Regions from separate parts of the Homo sapiens genome. Here regions 1, 2, 3, 5 and 6 are each linked to region 4. The links are contacts of gene promoters, found by promoter capture Hi-C in blood cells and fetal thymus (Javierre and others, 2016). All regions are on one chromosome and are shown on one strand. The core of a region is centred on a gene start or on the middle of the fragment in contact, and the rest is flanking DNA. Distances in the headings are between cores, read along the strand shown.

Region 1 (2,700 bases), core at 37-2,536, 370 kb after region 4:
TGGTCTTGAACTCCTAAACTCAAGTGATCCTCCCGCCTCGGGCTCCCAAAATGCTGGGATTACAGGTGTGAGCCACCATGCCCAGCTTAGTTGTATTTTAAATGGGCCTGTTTGCAGCATTCCCTACTCCCCTTAGTTTACCTGGCTCACAACCTGTCTTTCCATATCAAGGCTTCTGTCACCCCTGGCCCATGTCAGTGCATTTGGGCAGCCCACCCAGCATCATCACCTCATGTCCCAGGGAACTTCCTGTTCCTCTCTTCCAGCTATTTCCTTCCCTGGCAGTTGAGATAGTCTCTACCTTTGACCTACTGTTAAGCTCAGACCTTCTGCTCTCTAGTTACAGCCTCTGTGCTGCCAGATTCCCTCGCTCAGTTGCTTTCTCTAGTTTGGGTTTTCTCCTTTATTCAGATTTCCAGCTGTTTCTCTCCTCCCCCCACCGCAGCCTCCTCACTTCCCTCCTTATGCATCTGAGACTGTGGTCAGTCACTTTAGATGCTGCCTCTCCACTGTACTTGTGTCCATCTTCTTACCTACCACCTCTAGCCCTGGAGCAGGCTCTTCCCCTGTCTTTGTCTTCCTGGGCCCAGGCTCCTAAGCGCTGCTGGAAAAAAAATCCCCCAGTATTGAGCCCCTAGAAATCCAGTCTTTAATCCCAAATCTGTCTCCCCCAGCATCTGGCCATCAGATCTAAAGCTTACCTGCCATCCTTTCCACCTCATTTCTCTCACAGGGGAAAAGGAGCCTTTGCTCCTAGAGTCTGCGCTCCTGACCCCTTCCCATCTCACCTGTTCAAGGCATCTTGCAATAAGGGGTTGGTGACTCTCGAGGAATGGATCCCAGGCCCTCCCTATTATCATCTTATGTATGCCAGTTCAACGTTCTCAGCTTCCTCCAGCCGAGACGGCCCCTCCAGCCACTGCTTTATACTCTCCTTCTCTGGTTGAAATTTTTGAAGTAAATAGGTCACTCTGCCCATCGTTCATCTTCCAGTCACTCTGTGTGTTTATCTTCCAGGGAAGTGAGGCTCTATGCTACCAAGCCACTGAAATAATTTTTTTTTTTTTCCAGACTGAGTCTTGCTCTGTCACCCAGGCTGGAGTGCAGTGCCGCAGTCTTGGCTCACTGCAACCTCTGCCTCCCGGCTTCAGGCGATTCTCCTGCCCCAGCCTCCTGAGTAGCTGGGATTACAGGTGCCTGTCATCACGCCTGGCTAATTTTTTGTATTTTTGGTAGAGATGGGGCTTCACCATGTTGGCCAGGCTTGTTGGCATGTTGACCATGTTGGCCAGGCTAGCCTCAAGTGATCCACCCGTCAGCCTCCCAAAGTGCTGAGATTACAGGTGTGAGCCACCGCACCTGGCCTGAAATAATTCTTGACAAGATCTGCTTCCTTGTTACTAATACAGTGGATATTTTGCATCCTAATTTTAATGCAGTTCAGTGTGGTAGACCTGTATTTGCATATTGAATATTCCCTTCCCTGTTTTAATAACTCTATTTTTTCCTTTTCTTTTATATCTCCTGCTTCTCTAGCTAGTCCTAGACCTTACTCATCGGTGTCTTCTCTGTTTGTTCCTCAACTTGAGGAGTTCCTACAGGGTTTACCCAATCTGCTGCTTTCATTTAGCCCTTTTGTTCTTTTTGAGCCATCTCATTCACTCACCCAGGATGTAGCATCGGCCCTTGAATTCAGTGTGCACACATACACTGTGCACTATGGGACAGCCTTCAGAGGCACTTTGTTCCTGAAATTGTGGTGGTCTTTGCCTCTCATGGAGCCTTGCATATGCTGTTTCCTCTGCCTGGAATATCCTACCTTTTACTTAACTGATTCTCGTTCTTCTTTCCAGTCACATTTTGTACATTTCTTCTGGGAAGCTTTCTCTGATTTCCCCTTTCCACAGGTCCAAGTTAACTGCCTTGTCTAGGTCCTCCCATGGCCCTCTGAAGGCCTCCTTTCATAGCACCATGTCTGAGTATACTGTAATAACACGCATTGCTCTGTAATAGCCTGTTTACTTACCTATTGCCAAGTAATCTATCAAGTCTTATAAAGGGCGGGGCTGCTTTTGTTCTAGTCATTTGTATCTCTTAGTACCCAATATAGTGTTTGGCATATAGAAAATACCCAACAAGGCCAGTCGCAGTGGCTCATACCTGTAATCCGAGCACTTTGGTAGGCTGAGGTGGGCGGATCACTTGAGGTCAGGAGTTTGAGACCAGCCTGGCCAACATGGTGAAACCCTGTCTCTACTAAAAATACAAAAATTAGCCAGGCGTGGTGGCGGGTGCCTGTAGTCCCAGCTACTTGGGAGGCTGAGGCAGGAGAATCACTTGAACTGGGGAGGTGGAGGTTGCAGTGAGCTGAGATCACTCCACTGCACTCCAGCCTGGGTGACAGAGTGAGACTCCATCTTAAAAAAAAAAAAGACTCCATCTTAAAAAAAAAAAAAAAGAAAAAAGAAAGAAAATACCCAATAAGTAGTTCCTGAATGAATAGATGAGAATGCTGTTTAGAAGGTTCATGAATTGGAAACCGTGATTGCTAGGGAGGCTTTGAGTTGATGGTATTGTGTTGAACCATGTGTTACCCAGGATCAATTTAGATTTTACACTTTGTTTTCTCTGTTCCTTTTTATAGTAATTTTCTGTATGTGGTGTTTTCCCCCCATGAGATTGTATACCATTTCTCAGCGA
Region 2 (2,827 bases), core at 29-2,528, 400 kb after region 4:
TACCCTGTTGGCCAGGCTGGTCTTGAACTTGTGACCTGAAGTGATCCGCCCGCCTTGGCCTCCCAAAGTGCTGGGATTACAGGCATGAGCCACCACGCTTGGCCCAAGTATGTTTATTTTTAAAGTCCCCAACAAGCTATACAATAAATTGCATATGGAATGGATTTTTGTTCTAGTTGATTTGTTGGTTATCATTTGTAGAACTAACTAGTTGTCTTCTGTGTTTGATACCTTGCTTCTAGGTCATTTTGAGTTGGGAGCCTTTTGTTTTGTTTTTATTCTCATGCTGTTTTTGAGCCTAGCTGTGCCTTTATGGTTTTCTCTAAATTTAATTGACCATTGTTTTATATTTGGAGCAGTGGGTGTACATCAGAGTGTGAAAGCAGCCCCACCCTCTCCACCAGAAGGTCTCCATGCCAGTTTCACGAAGCATTTTTCATGCCCTCATTCCTGCCCTTATCCCTTGATTTGTGGGGAGTTTGTAAAGCAGTTGATTGTTTTTTTTCCACGTAGTTTTCCAAGTGCACATAATTGTTCTGTTAGTGACTTGTAGCTCCATTATCTATTAACCTTGCCCCAGACCACTGTACAAGCGGACCCAACGCTTCCTCCAGCTGTGGCAGGGACAGTTACTTGGTATCCTGCTGCCTTTTCAATGCTGACCAGTTTTGCCCCTTCCTCCCCTCAACCCCTGTCTTTCATTCAACTATCACCAAACCAAAAGATTCTGGTTTGCTTTTTAGTATGTGTTCTTATTCAGTACATAGTCATTTTAAAATTTAAACCAAAACAGACTTGGTACTGATTAGCTTAATTTTAAGCTTTTTCTTTATTATTAAACAGTGTAGTTTATCTTAGCATTTCATATTAAGTATATGATTTATTTCATATTGCTTATATGAATGTACACATAAATATAATAAAAATATTTTCCTAAGGTTTTTGTAGTAAATTATATCGTTTCATTAACTTTCATATATAGCATTGCTTTTGACCTGGAAGACATTGAACCTCTGATGATTTGTATATTCCTCGGAGTATACTTTGTTACATAGAAATTTTCTCATTTATAATGAGATTTGTGATTAACAAAATTTGTTCAACATGCATTACTTTGAAGATCTGGTTTCTAAAATTTTATGCTAGTTACCCCACCCCCCCTTCTATATATATCTCCCTATTCAGCGACTACTGCAAGAGTTCCAGGAAATGTACACTGTGTGTTCACTTACTGCATTTTAAATCATTGCCTTTACTATATTTCTGCATTTCCCTTCAATCTAGCTCTGTCTGTACATTTCTGAAAGCCAGTAGCTTCCCTGAAGAACCAGGTAACAACCCGAACAATCAAATTAGATAACCATTTGTAGAATGGAGGTTCCGGGAGATCTTAGAAGATGTGATGGGTGCTAAGGGACTTTGTAGTTCCCTGAAGTTCCAGTGAGTAAAAGGTACCCTTGGAATTTTTTATTCCTTCAGACTTTTAAAACAGAGATCACTTTCAAAAATTACTCTTTCTGCTTTGAATCCATGTTTTAGTAACTATTTTGACACTGTTTGGTCAGAAGGCTGTGTGGGTCAACTGCAAATAAATAAAATAAATGTGATTTCAGTAATTTCCATTTTGTAACAAGTAATTGAGAAAATAGGATTGGATCAGATATTTGCTTATACACATTCCCTTTCAGGAGCACTTCTGTTCTATAAAGAATGTTGGTATATTGTTAAGGACACTTCAAGCTTTGGGAACCTTTGAAGTATCCATTGATTCAGTTAACAAAATTATGTTGAGTGCCTACCCTGGGCCTGGGCCTGTGTTAGGAGGGGACACTAAGATGAGAGTCCAAAGCACTTCTTCTCAGACTCCTGGCTGCTAATGGGTTGCTGCCTCTACTTCTTCACTTAGCAGATAGCTTTAAAATGAGTAATGCATTTTACCATGGAGCCCGTAAGAGACATTCACCCAGTTGTGGACCGAGGAGAAGGGTGTTAAACCCAGATTGTGATGTTTCACTTGATGAAGTGCTTAATATAAACATGGAAATATTTCCGCAAGGATAAACTGGCTTTTATGCCTGTGTGTTTTCAGGAGAAATAGAAATCTCTAATCAAATATTGCCAGCTTTTCACCCAAGTTTGACTTTTTGCCTAATTGAGTTTGGGAGGTGTCTGAATAATGGATAATGAGCTTTCCTGAATAAATATAAAAATTAATTAACTCCAGGCTCTAATTCATTCTGTTACCAGAGTTTTGTAAGCATGTTACCCCTTTGTGTTCATTGGGAGATCATCTGTTACCTTCTTAAATGAGTGGGGAAGGATGGGAAATGAGGAAGAGCTATAAAAACTATTCAGGTGAAGAAGGTTTCTGCCCCTCCTTGCCCCTTTTAAAATCTCCAGCTCAGCAGATGCTTTGTTTAAACTTGATCAAGTGCTTGTGAATCTTCCTAGCCTAGCTAAATCATAACTTTGGAAGGACTTGCTTTTTTCTCTCATGACAATGGTTTACCACAGAAATGATTCAGATCACTTTGTGTGCCTGATGCCTATGTAAAATGATACAGTGAAATGGAAACCATTTACCTGTAAGCTTTGGGCACACCCAAGCCTGCTTCAGGAGCACATGATCAGGCGTGCACTCTGGGAGAGCCGTACACATTTGACATCTATGATGTGTGGCGTTTTATTCTATCACATTTCTGAAATCTACACTAAGAGAAAGGAGGCTCTTAAAAAACCACTGAGGTGTGGACTGGGGGAAGGAGAGATCCGTAAAGAACCTGTTTGTTACCTGTTGATACTATTTCCCATTGGTAAAATTTCTAAT
Region 3 (2,700 bases), core at 101-2,600, 350 kb after region 4:
CTCCCCTTCCCACAGTGAGTCTGGCTTCCTTGCCTACCCCAGGATATGGGCAGTGGGAATATCCATGTCCTCCTGAAGAAAGTACAATTCCCCATGTGGTTCCCCTTGCAGCTCACTTCCCTGTGGCCTGGATGAGGCCATCACAAGAGTTGTAAGTGCGATCCCCTAAGCCCGGGTCCCTCCACTTTCAGTTATTCCAAATCAGAGTCCTCTCCAAGGGCTTCCCACCAGCACAAGGGGAAGGAAAGTTCAGGTCAGCGCCTCTTCTCTGCACAGTCAAGTCTCAAACAGAAGACCAGTTTCATCTTCAAATACAGAAACTGCTGGAGCAAATACTTGGTCAAAAAGGTACACATCTTTCCCAAGGACTTCAGGAACCCTTCTAGCTAAATCAAAGCTTAGAAATTCATTCCTCTTTTCTAAAAGGCTATGGTCCTAGTACAGATCCACCCAACTTACATGCATTATCACAATGCTGGTGTGCAACAGTGGGCAAGTCATGTATCACTCCAAGCCTCAGTTTCCTCATCTGTGAAATGAGGTTAATGACAGTTTCTCTTACAGGGTTGTTGGGAAGATGTAGAGAGATGATAAAGGTAAAGTGCTAGCTTAGTGCAGAGCCTAGTCTTTCGTCAAAGCCCAATACATGTAGCTAACATAACTAGTATTATTAAACAATAAGAAACAACTCAACATGGGGAATCTGCATCTGGATAATATCACTGTCTTAGGATTCTCCCCAAGAGCAGTGATTTCTCCCAGAATAATGGAAGAACATTCTCATCTTCAAAGACAAAAATGGCTCCAAATCCCCTTCAAAAACTTGAAAAACTAGACTTCACCTCCAGAACTGGTTACATAAGCTCAATGCAGAATGAATATGCGGGGCTCCTTGTTCAAACATTATTGCGAGTTTCGGCCAGGCACAGTCGCTCATGCCTGTAATCCCTGCACTTTCAGAGGCCGAGGCAGGTGGATCTCCTGAGGTCAGGAGTTTGAGACAAGCCTGGCCAACATGGTGAAACCTCATCTCTACTAAAAACACCAAAATTAGCCGGGCGTGGTGGTGGGTGCCTGTAATCCCAGCCACTCGGGAGGCTGAGGCAGGAGAATCTCTTGAAACTGGGAGGCAGAGGTTGCAGTGAGCCAAGATTGCACCACTGCATTCCAGCCTGGGCAACGGAGCAAGACTCCATCTCAAAAAAAAAAAAATTATTAAGAATTTCAAGGCTGGGTGCGGTGGCTCACACCTGTAATCCTAGCAATTTGGGAGGCCGAGGCGGGCAGATCACTTGAGATCAGGAGTTCAAAACCAGCCTGGCCAACATGGTGAAACCCCGTCTCTACTAAAAATACAAAAAAAAAAAATTAGCCGGGCATGGTGGCAGGTGCCTGTAATCCCAGCTACTCGAGAGGCTGAGGCAGGAGAATTGCTTTAACCCAAGAGGCAGAGGTTGCAGAGAGCCAAGGTCACGCCACTGCACTCCAGCCTGGACAACAGAGCGAGACTCAGTCTCAAAAACAAACAAAAACAAAGAAACAAACAAACAAACAAAAGAATTTCAAGACAAAGACAGCAGAGCAAACAAGTGCAGGCCCCTTCTGAGCTCGGGACTCTGCAATCACACAGGTTGCACACACACCCATGAAACCAGCCAAGTTCACCTACAGCAGCAGAACAAAAAATAGGGTTGTAAAATTGCAGGTTGCAATATATATTATGAAAAACTTCTGAAGACAGATGGTAGCTTGCTTTTTTCCACTCAGCAACTTACACAACTGTAGAACAACAGCAAAATTTTTGAGTCCTTGCTGTGAACTAGAGACCAGGCTGAGTGCTTTACACACATACTCTCATTTAATCATCACATCCCTGCATTCTGTAAAAGATGGAAAACCAAGGATTGGAGAGGGTAAGGAACTTGCCCAAGGGCACATGAGCCCAATTCAGCCTAATTCCAGAACCCACACCCAGAACCACCATGTGTACAGTGAAAGTGCCCCCGCAAGCCTCAGCCCTGCAAACTAGAGTGTGGAGGATGTTGTAGGGGCCTCTGGAAACCCTCCCCAGACTCCTCCTTTGCTGAAAGCATGGAGCTGGGACCGGTTTCCATCTTTGGATCCAACTTCCCTCCTTGAACTTTCCCGCACATCTCTGACCCTCCTTTCTCAGAACACATGTGATTCCCCTAGTTCCCCCTGAATGCCTCCTCCTCCCCCACCGGGGAAGTTGCTCTTACCAGACAGGCAGCGTGGGATTATGTTTACGCATTTATTTTTGTTTCTTTTTAATGACTTGCTGTAAAGCTTAAAATGTCTTCCGGGTGGTAGAGAGGCAGGGGAGTCGCCCATTAAAAATGAAGCCCAGTAAAAATGAAGCCCAGTAGAGACGTGAGTGGGAGATTCTGGGCTGTTAACCTTCCCGTGAGTTCTGAAATAGTGCAGAACTCATATATTTAATATAGTTTCAGAACTAGAAGCAGCAAATAGAGCTGAACTGGGTTCAAATCCTGACTCCACCATTTCTCATCTGTGTGACTGTGGGCAAGTTGCTTAACCTCTCTGTGCCACGGTTCAAATGGAGATCACAATAGTACAGGCTCCAGAGTGGTGGTGTTAATGAATGATTATCGTTATTATTATCCTCATTGTTATTACTATTGTTTTTAGAGCTCATGGGAGTCCTTGGAGAGACTGTAT
Region 4 (2,700 bases), core at 134-2,633:
TGCATGTGGTGCTTGGTGGCTGCCCCACAGAAAAAGGAAGGATGTCAGGATATTTGACAAACAAAGCTTCATTCCATGGTGACACCCAGGTAGAGGTGCCTCCCAGTCACCTGAACCAGGAGTTCTCAAAGGCACTTCCTTAACTCCTGGGGATATAGGGCCCTCCTGAGGCCAAACAGTAAAATTCCTAGGGCTCACGTAGGAGTCACAAAAGTGGGTGTAGGGGGGGTGCTTGCTGGAGCATATACAGTGAGCAAAGCAGGAAGAAGCTAGGGAGAAACCGTGGCCTGAGGGAAAGGGACAGAGAGGGAGAGGTGAACTCCAACTTATGATCTGGTCTGGGGAATATGGGGGTTCCAGTCCCAAGTCCTAAGGAAGGGGCCAATACATGGATGTGAGGGAGGGGCAAGAGCTAGAGTTGGGGCTTATGTACAGGGGAGCTTACAGTGGGGTACATTCAGTCCCCTCACTGCCTGGGATCCAGGAATATGGGGCAAGGACTGATGCTCACCACTGGAGGGTTGGGGAGAGGATATCGGTCTGTAGCCACTGAAGCTATCACTAGGATGGGGTTTTGGGGGAAGGGTGTGGGGGGTACCGTGCAGCTGGAAGCCCCTGAGTTAGGGTTCCCTGGGCAGAGGGGCTGACATTCCCAGGTTAGGGAGGTGAGGTCATTGTTTGCAGCCCAGGGCCTGGGCTAGGGCACAGAGGAGGTACTAGGATGTAGATTCCAGATCTGGGGAACCCAGGATGAGGTGTGACTTTTAGGGGCCTGAGGGCAGTGCTTACAGCTGAAGGGCAGCTTTGGGCTTGGACCGGGTCCTGGGGGGATGAGGGGGTGGGGTTCTAAGTCTAGGAGCACTCTTCACAACCGAGAATGCCCCGGGGCTAGGATTCCGTATCTGCGGGTCCGATGGGAGCTCCGTTTGTCGCCCAGGGAGCTCATGGTAATTTCTTGATCTGGGGAGTGTCTCTGCAGCCAGGAAACCCCGGGGCCAAGGTTCTGGCTTGGGTTCGGAAGGGACACTGGGGTGGGGTCCCCGAACTTGCTATTTGCAAGTTAGACACCCGGGCTGGAGTTCCGCATCTGGGCCCGAGGTTGGGACTCCAGTCTGGGGTCGCTGTCCGCAGCCGGGGCTGGTGACCGCAGGCCTGGAGGGGGGCCCAGAGGTCTTACCTGGCGAGTAGAGCGCAGCCAGCTCGCGGGCCCCGGCGTGCTGCGCGCCCCAGCGGCAACAAGACGCCTCGTCCTCGTCCAGCTCCAGCTGCTGGCCCGGCCAGTTCTCGGCGCCCGCCATGGCCACTCGCCCGATCGGCCCGGTGCGCTCTGCTGGCGGCGGCGGCGGCAGGGCCGCGGAACCGCGGCGAGATCACGCCGCCCAATGACCGCCCAGCGCCGGGCGCGGCGGCGGCGCGGGCGGGGTCCTCGCCCGGCCGCGCGTCACAGCCAATCGGGGCTCGCGCCGGAGCCGCGCAGGCCAATCGGACGTCGCTGAGCCGCAGCCAACCGCCGCGAGCCGGAGGCTGGGACGCAGCTGGACGCAGCTGGGCGCGGAAGCTTGGGGCGGAGGCGCGTGCCCGCCTTCCCAGCTCAGCCCCGGCAGGGCTCCCGGCTCCAGCCCACTGGGAGCTCGCGGCGCGTCGCCGCCCAGCTAGGCTTCGGTTCACGGGCCCATGCAATGGGCCGAGGCAGGGCCCAGAAATGGGCATTTCTTGAGCCGGCAGCGTTAAGCGCCCACTGTGTGCAAGGAACGCGAGGGCAGGGCGCCGGGCTGGGGCCGAGGCCAGGAAGCATTTGGCGGGTGCTCTGTACGATGCTCCCTAGCGAGGCCGATGGAGAGTGGGCTGGTTTATCAAGCCCTACTGTGTGCAGAGGTTTCGGGTGCCATGTGTTCATCAGCTGTGTGCCAGCTCTGTGCTGTGCGCCCAAAGAGGAGAAACGTCGAGCCTGCCCCGCATCCTCCCCAGCTCATGTTCTCCCGGTGGCGAGGACAGTAAACTAATGAAAATGACAACTAGGGTCACTATGAGATTTGCTGAGCGCTTAATATCTGTCAGGTGCTGGACCAAGAGCTAGACGAGCAACATTTATTTGACTCTTAAACACCAATGGTATTGCCTCCTCAGAGAGCCCCACCACCACCACCCTGCTCAAAGGTGCCCCCTCCTCCAGTCACTGTGACATCACCCTGTTTTGTCTTCACAGCGCTTCTGGTGGGGATTGAGCTTGCAGTCCCTGTCTCTCCTATCAGAGAGCAAGCTCCTGAGGGCAGAGAACAGCTTTGTTTACAGCAGGGCCCCCGTGCCAGGATCGGGGCTGGAACATGGTAGAAGCTCAATAAATGCTTGATGAATGAATTAAGGCTCAGCCAGATGCGTCTAATACTTCGGCAGATAAATGACAGCAGCAGGGATTTACCCCAGGTCTAACCGACAACAAAGTATGCAATAATTTCTCATAGAAATTCCATACAGGCAGCCGGGCGCGGTGGCTCACGCCGGTAATCCCAGCACTTTGGGAGGCCAAGGCGGGCGGATCATGAGGTCAGGAGATCGAGACCATCCTGGCTAACACGGTGAAACCCCGTCTCTACTAAAAATACAAAAAATTAGCTGGGCGCGGTGGCGGGCGCCTGTAGTCCCAGCTACTCGGGAGGCTGAGACAGGAGAATGGCGTGAACCCGGGAGGCGGAGCTTGCA
Region 5 (2,762 bases), core at 242-2,741, 310 kb after region 4:
TTTTAAAAATATGTACTTTCATAACATGTATGAGAAACAAATACCTCATTTTCTTAGTATATAAAAATCCCTAGCAGATCAACAAAAAGACAATTATCCAAGAGAAAAATAGACTAACAATTTGAATGCTTTGCCACCAGAAAAGAAATATAAACAGTCTTTGAACGTATTTTTTAAATGTCCAATCTAACATATAAACAATGAATATGTAGATTAGAACTATGGTGAACACCTTTTTCCCCTATCGGCAAGGCCAAGATCAAGAAGTCCAATCATACTTGGCCTTGGCTAGGACGTGGGGAAACCAGAGCTCACGGAGGTTGCCGGTGCAAATGACGATTGGTAGGTACAACCTTAGAGAGCATTTAGACAACCAGCGTCAAAATGTTTAAACGCACCTGCCCTATGACTGGGCGATTCAGTTGCTAAGAATGTATCCATCAGAAATAGCTCTGAATACATGGAAAGACTTCTGTGAAAGGGATACTAATTGCAGCATTGTTTGTTGCAGAAAAACCCTGGAAATACCTCCGTGACTATCACCAGAAAACTTGTTAGATAAATTATTATATTCAGACAATGGAATGTGCAAAGAATGCTCTCCTAGTGCTGATCTGGAAAGATCTGCCAAGGTACATTGCTAAGTTGAAAAAAACAAAATCCCAGTGCAGAACAGGGTGTGTGGTGTGCTTCTATTTAGAGAAATGAGTACAGGAATCCACGCACATATTTGCTTATCTGTGTTCTGGATGTCTCTGTAATGATCCCCAAGAAATGATAACCAGAATGGATTCTGGGGAGGGAAGCTTGGAGTTTTAAAGCTGGGGATGGGGGTTAAGGATTAGAGGGAGAAGACCCACTGTAAATCTTTTGGTATCTTTTGAATTTTTGCATATGAATACAATCCCTTGTTAGTTTTTAAAAATGGAACTTTTTAATGCATTGATAGATGACAGAGAGAAAAATGCCTTGAAGGATATGCTCCAACGTGTCAATAGCACTTATCTCTGGGTGGCTGATGTGAATTAGAAGCGACTTTTATTTTGTTCTTTTTTTATTATTTCTCTAATCAATTATTTATTTTGAGACAAGATCTTGCTCTATCACCCAGGCTGGAGTGCAGTGATGCGATCACCACTCATTGAAACCTCTGCCTCCTGGGCTTAAGTGATCCTCCCAGCTTAGCCTCCTGAGTGGCTGGGACTATAGGCACTTGCCACCATGCCTGGCTGATTTTTTATTTTTAATTAAATTTTTTTTTGTAAAGACGAAGTCTCACTAAGTTGCCCAAGCTGGTTTTGAACTCCTGGGCTCAAACGATCCCTCTGTTTCAGCTTCCCAAAGTGCTAGGATTACAGGTGTGAGCCACTGTGCCCGGTCTGTTCTTTTTAAAAAATACAGAGACAGGGTCTCACTTTGTCACCTAGGCTAGAGTACAGTGGCATAATCATAGCACCCTGCAGCCTTGATCTTCTAGGCTCAAGTGATCCTCCAGCTTCAGCCTCCCAAGTAGCTGGGACCACAGGCATGCACCACCACTTCTGGCTATATTTTGTTCTTTTTACTTAGATTTTCTAATTTAAAAAAATAATTACCAGCCGGGTGTGGTGGCCCATGCCTGTAAATCCTAGCACTCTAGGAGGCCGAGGCAGGAGGATCATTTGAGCCCAGGAGTTTGAGACCAGCCTGGGCAACATAGTGAAACCGCGTCTTTACTAAAAATACAAAAAAAAAAAAAAATTAGCTGGGTGTGGTGGTGCTCACCTGTAGTCCCAGCTACTCAGAAGGCTGAGGCAGGAGAATCACTTGAACCTGGGAGGCAGAGGTTACAGTGAGCCCAGATCACACCACTGCACTCCAGCCTGGGCAACAGAGCGAGACTCCGTCTTAAAATAAAATAAAATAAAATAAAATAAATAATTATCAAGGTATATTCAGATAATTTTTTTAAAAATTAAGTAAGTAAACACCTCAGTGTTCTCTTGGTAGTCAGGGGAAAACTAACTTCTACATGAAAAAAAGAAAAGACCAAAAACACATACACTTCTCTAAACAGGCAGATTATTTTCATTGCCAAGGACATTACAGAGACTGAGGAGTGGGTTGGAAATATATTCTATGAAAAATCGAGAATTAATACAACTGTCCTACCATGCACTTTCTGGGCATCAAAACGCCAAGCTTCTAACTCAGACCTGAGTTCAAACTCTGACTGCCACTTACTAGCTGGGCAAGTTGCTCCTACGCCGTTGGCCTCAGTTTCCTCATCTGTAGTCTGAGACCACATTGCTGCTGGCAGGCTCGAGTGAGATCATGCCTGTGAAGTACTTGGCTCAGGCGTACTCAGAGACCCAGTTCAAACAGGGAACAGGCAGAAATTCTGCACCCCGCAAGGGTGACAGGGCGGAGGGAGGACAGGAGGGGCCGCTTTGCCGGACTGGGGATCAGTGTGCAACTAGCTGGGCCCGGAGTCCCCCACAAACCGGCCAGCTCAGAGGTTCTTCCGACAGTTTGGAGAGAGTGACACCAAGTGGCCAAGTCTGAAACTACACCTTCAAGCCGGAGGGTTAGAGCCTCTCCCCGACCCCTCCAGCTGCGGTCCTGAGCCAGGCACTGAACTTCCCTGAATCTGAGTTTTTTCAGCTGCGAAATGGAGGTAATCCTGCCTACCTGGCAGAGCGGAGGTGGGAATTAAATGAGGTAACCCGCAGAGATTCTCTCCAGGACCGCCATGTTGCACAACTTCAGGGGCCCCATTCATG
Region 6 (2,700 bases), core at 63-2,562, 330 kb after region 4:
CTACCAACAGAGCGTCCTCTGTGTTTCAGTAAGGGTAACTTTCTGCAAAATACAACAAAGATGTTCATGTGAAATAAAGGGGGTGATTTATGTATGAAAAGGTGGGGTGTGAGCCTTGTGAATACCATGGGAAGATGAGGTCCTTCCACTCAGGGAATAGGAGCCCCGTGGTTTGGCCCCAGATGGTAAACAGGAGTGCTGTTTAGTTGAAGAACAGCATGTCCCATTCTGTTCTTTTGGGGAGATTTAAAGCAAGACCGTTTGCAATTGGATCTAATTGATAAGTGTCTTAGTTTGGAATCCCCTGTTGGCACACCTCATATCTTAGTTTAGATTCTCTAGATACAGACCCTGAGACAAAGACTCAAGGACACATCACTTCTTTGGAAGGCAAAAGAAATACGAGTAGAGAAGAAAAGAGACCCAGGGAAAGGAGGACAACCAATATTAAGCAAGTTATCAAGACAGTTACTGCCCTAGGCAAGTGAAGCTTAATTCCACCTGTGTAGAACACATGTCTCAGAGTTATCTTACCTGAAGGATCAGCAACTCCATCTTGGAAGCTAATCCGCCATGTTGGCTTCTGATTAACCCCTGTTCCAAGAAGGCCTCTAAGATTTCTAGTTTATCTATTATTCCTTGTGTAAGAGCAGGTTCTGACTCTATATCCTGTCCTTAGGTCAAACAACCTTGATGTTATCTTACTTCAACTGTTCTACACATCCCTTCTGAACCACCCCTCTCCTATGGTATAGAAGCCCTGGGTCTGGGAGATAATGGAGTGGGGATCCACCATCTTGTCTGGCCACCGCAGGAGACACAGACGTGGCATCTGTTTCTAAGTTTCTATTAAAAGTTTCTTTCTAAGGAACTGAGTATGTCAGCATCATCTCTTCAGCCTCTCAGCTTCCTTGGACTTTGGGGTAAGTTTGCATAGACCTGCCCACTGCAAAACAATCAGGAAGCTGGGGTATTTATACACCACCTCTATCCATTCCTTGGTTGAAGGCAGCTGGAAAGAAGAGAAGGAATATTCATTCTCCAACCTCCTTTAGGCTGCTTGACTCTGACAACCAGAAGAAAAAACCCAAAAAACTCATAGAAAAAGATGCACATACTACCAGTTAGAAGTTGGGCAGTTGGCCAGGCGCAGTGGCTCATGCCTGTAATCCCAGCACTTTGGGAGGCTGAGGAGGGCGGATCACCTGAAGTCAGGAGTTCAAGACCAGCCTAGTCAACATGGTGAAACAAAATACAAAAATTAGCCGGGCGTGACGGTGGGTGCCTGTAATCCCAGGTACTTGGGAGGCTGAGGCAGGAGAATTGCTTGAACCCGGGAGGCAGAGGTTGTAGTGAGCCAAGATCATGCCACTGCACTCCAGTCTGGGCAACAGGGCAAGACTCTGTCTCAAAAACAAACAAACAAACAAAAAAAAGAGCTAGTTACCTTTATGGGCAACTGGGGCACAGTCCCAGAGGGGCCCTCAGGGGATGATGTGGAGTATACCGCAAGATTGTCTCAGGAAGGGTTGGGGAAACTGTGCTGTTTATCCGCAATGACCACTCTCAGCGGTTGAAGGTGGTGCCCGGGGCCAGCAACTCCAGTACACTTCCCTTCCCACACATGTGACCTGCCATGCGCACATGAAGCACACAGGCTCTGGGCAGAGAGATGCGGGTGCCGGAGGTTGGGTATACGTCACCAGCATTTATAGAACTGTCCATCTAGCTTCAGGCAGCTCTCTTGAGTGGGCTGAGGAGGATGAGTGAGCACTGATGCTGGCCAGGAAACTTAGGAGAAGGAGGGGAAAGGAAGAAAGGAACAAAACTAACATTTATAAAGTGCAGGGTAGTTGCCAGCCATTAGCACAGTTACTTTCGTTTTCTGATTCCCATTGTACAGTTGAGAAAAACGAGCTCAGAGAGGGAAAGTGACTTGCTCTTGACTATGTGACAGTTAAGTGCTGGAATTCCAGCTCAGATTGAGTCTACAAAGACAGTGTTCTCTATCTCCCTCTTCCTTTTCTCCTTGTCCTCCTCTTCTCTGCTTTTCTCTCCCTCTCCCTCCTCCCCACCACCTTGTTTATTTTTTTTCCAAATAATATTTAGAGTTACCAAGACAGAAGTCAAGAGGAAAGCTTTCTGGTGTCCTTAAAGATGTGCTTTATGAAAGATAGTTTTCATTTGCTCTTTTATTCATTTGACACATTTATTAAGCACCTATGATACGCAATATATAGAAAACAAGACAGACACAATCCTTGCCCCTTAGGCTTTATACTCTAGCAGGAAAAGGAGGCATTAAACAGCTAAATACACATGGCGAGGAGGGGGTAAGGGAAGCCTAGATGGGGAAGTGGGGGAGTGAGATGGGAACAGGAAGGCAGCCATAAAAAGCAATTAGTTGATTACGTTGTGATACAGGTTTCTCAACCTCCGCATTAGTGAAATTTTGACTGGATCATTCCTGTAGGCTGTTCTGGGCATTGTAGGATATTTAGCAGCGTCTCTGGCCTCTACCCACTAGATGCCAGTAGCATTCTTACCCTGGTTTTGACAACCAAAAATGTTTCCAGACATTGTCAAATGGCCCCTGGGGGGCAAAATCACTCCCAGTTGAGAACCACTGTGGTAAATAAGAAAGGCAGATACGAAAACATGTAACAAGGAAACAGAATCTAGGCATACCCACAAGGAAGT

Evidence for each region. The method cuts DNA at HindIII sites, captures the fragments that hold promoters and counts their contacts. A CHiCAGO score of 5 or more calls a contact.
Region 1: a fragment that was not itself captured here is called in contact with the fragment with the promoter of PEDS1 in region 4 in 1 of 17 cell types (activated CD4 T cells); the score reaches 5.0 in activated CD4 T cells.
Region 2: a fragment that was not itself captured here is called in contact with the fragment with the promoter of PEDS1 in region 4 in 1 of 17 cell types (activated CD4 T cells); the score reaches 5.3 in activated CD4 T cells.
Region 3: a fragment that was not itself captured here is called in contact with the fragment with the promoter of PEDS1 in region 4 in 1 of 17 cell types (monocytes); the score reaches 5.5 in monocytes.
Region 5: a fragment that was not itself captured here is called in contact with the fragment with the promoter of PEDS1 in region 4 in 6 of 17 cell types (fetal thymus, total CD8 T cells, naive CD8 T cells and 3 more); the score reaches 10.7 in fetal thymus.
Region 6: a fragment that was not itself captured here is called in contact with the fragment with the promoter of PEDS1 in region 4 in 9 of 17 cell types (neutrophils, monocytes, naive CD8 T cells and 6 more); the score reaches 9.5 in neutrophils.

Annotation. Positions count from the first base shown.
Region 1 is chr20:50,526,294-50,528,993 of GRCh38, forward strand. All of the region lies in intron 1 of PTPN1 (protein tyrosine phosphatase non-receptor type 1), which reads left to right. Among named protein-coding and RNA genes, the nearest start is that of PTPN1, 17 kb to the left of the region's middle. The HindIII fragment of the contact is 1,185 bases long and covers 695-1,879 here.
Region 2 is chr20:50,548,914-50,551,740 of GRCh38, forward strand. The region is part of intron 1 of PTPN1 (protein tyrosine phosphatase non-receptor type 1); the gene reads left to right. Among named protein-coding and RNA genes, the nearest start is that of MIR645, 35 kb to the right of the region's middle. The HindIII fragment of the contact is 919 bases long and covers 820-1,738 here.
Region 3 is chr20:50,499,999-50,502,698 of GRCh38, forward strand. No RefSeq gene overlaps it. Among named protein-coding and RNA genes, the nearest start is that of PTPN1, 9.0 kb to the right of the region's middle. The HindIII fragment of the contact is 1,910 bases long and covers 396-2,305 here.
Region 4 is chr20:50,152,340-50,155,039 of GRCh38, forward strand. PEDS1 (plasmanylethanolamine desaturase 1) reads right to left here and starts at 1,384. Exons shown (of 6, transcript NM_199129.4): 1 at 1,178-1,384. The coding sequence starts at 1,298. PEDS1-UBE2V1 (PEDS1-UBE2V1 readthrough) reads right to left here and starts at 1,384. Exons shown (of 8, transcript NM_199203.3): 1 at 1,178-1,384. The coding sequence starts at 1,298. RefSeq lists a silencer at 1,138-1,817. The HindIII fragment of the contact is 1,492 bases long and covers 65-1,556 here.
Region 5 is chr20:50,461,900-50,464,661 of GRCh38, forward strand. No RefSeq gene overlaps it. Among named protein-coding and RNA genes, the nearest start is that of PTPN1, 47 kb to the right of the region's middle. The HindIII fragment of the contact is 1,375 bases long and covers 805-2,179 here.
Region 6 is chr20:50,481,997-50,484,696 of GRCh38, forward strand. No RefSeq gene overlaps it. Among named protein-coding and RNA genes, the nearest start is that of PTPN1, 27 kb to the right of the region's middle. RefSeq lists enhancers at 1,786-1,835, 1,876-1,985. The HindIII fragment of the contact is 1,648 bases long and covers 489-2,136 here.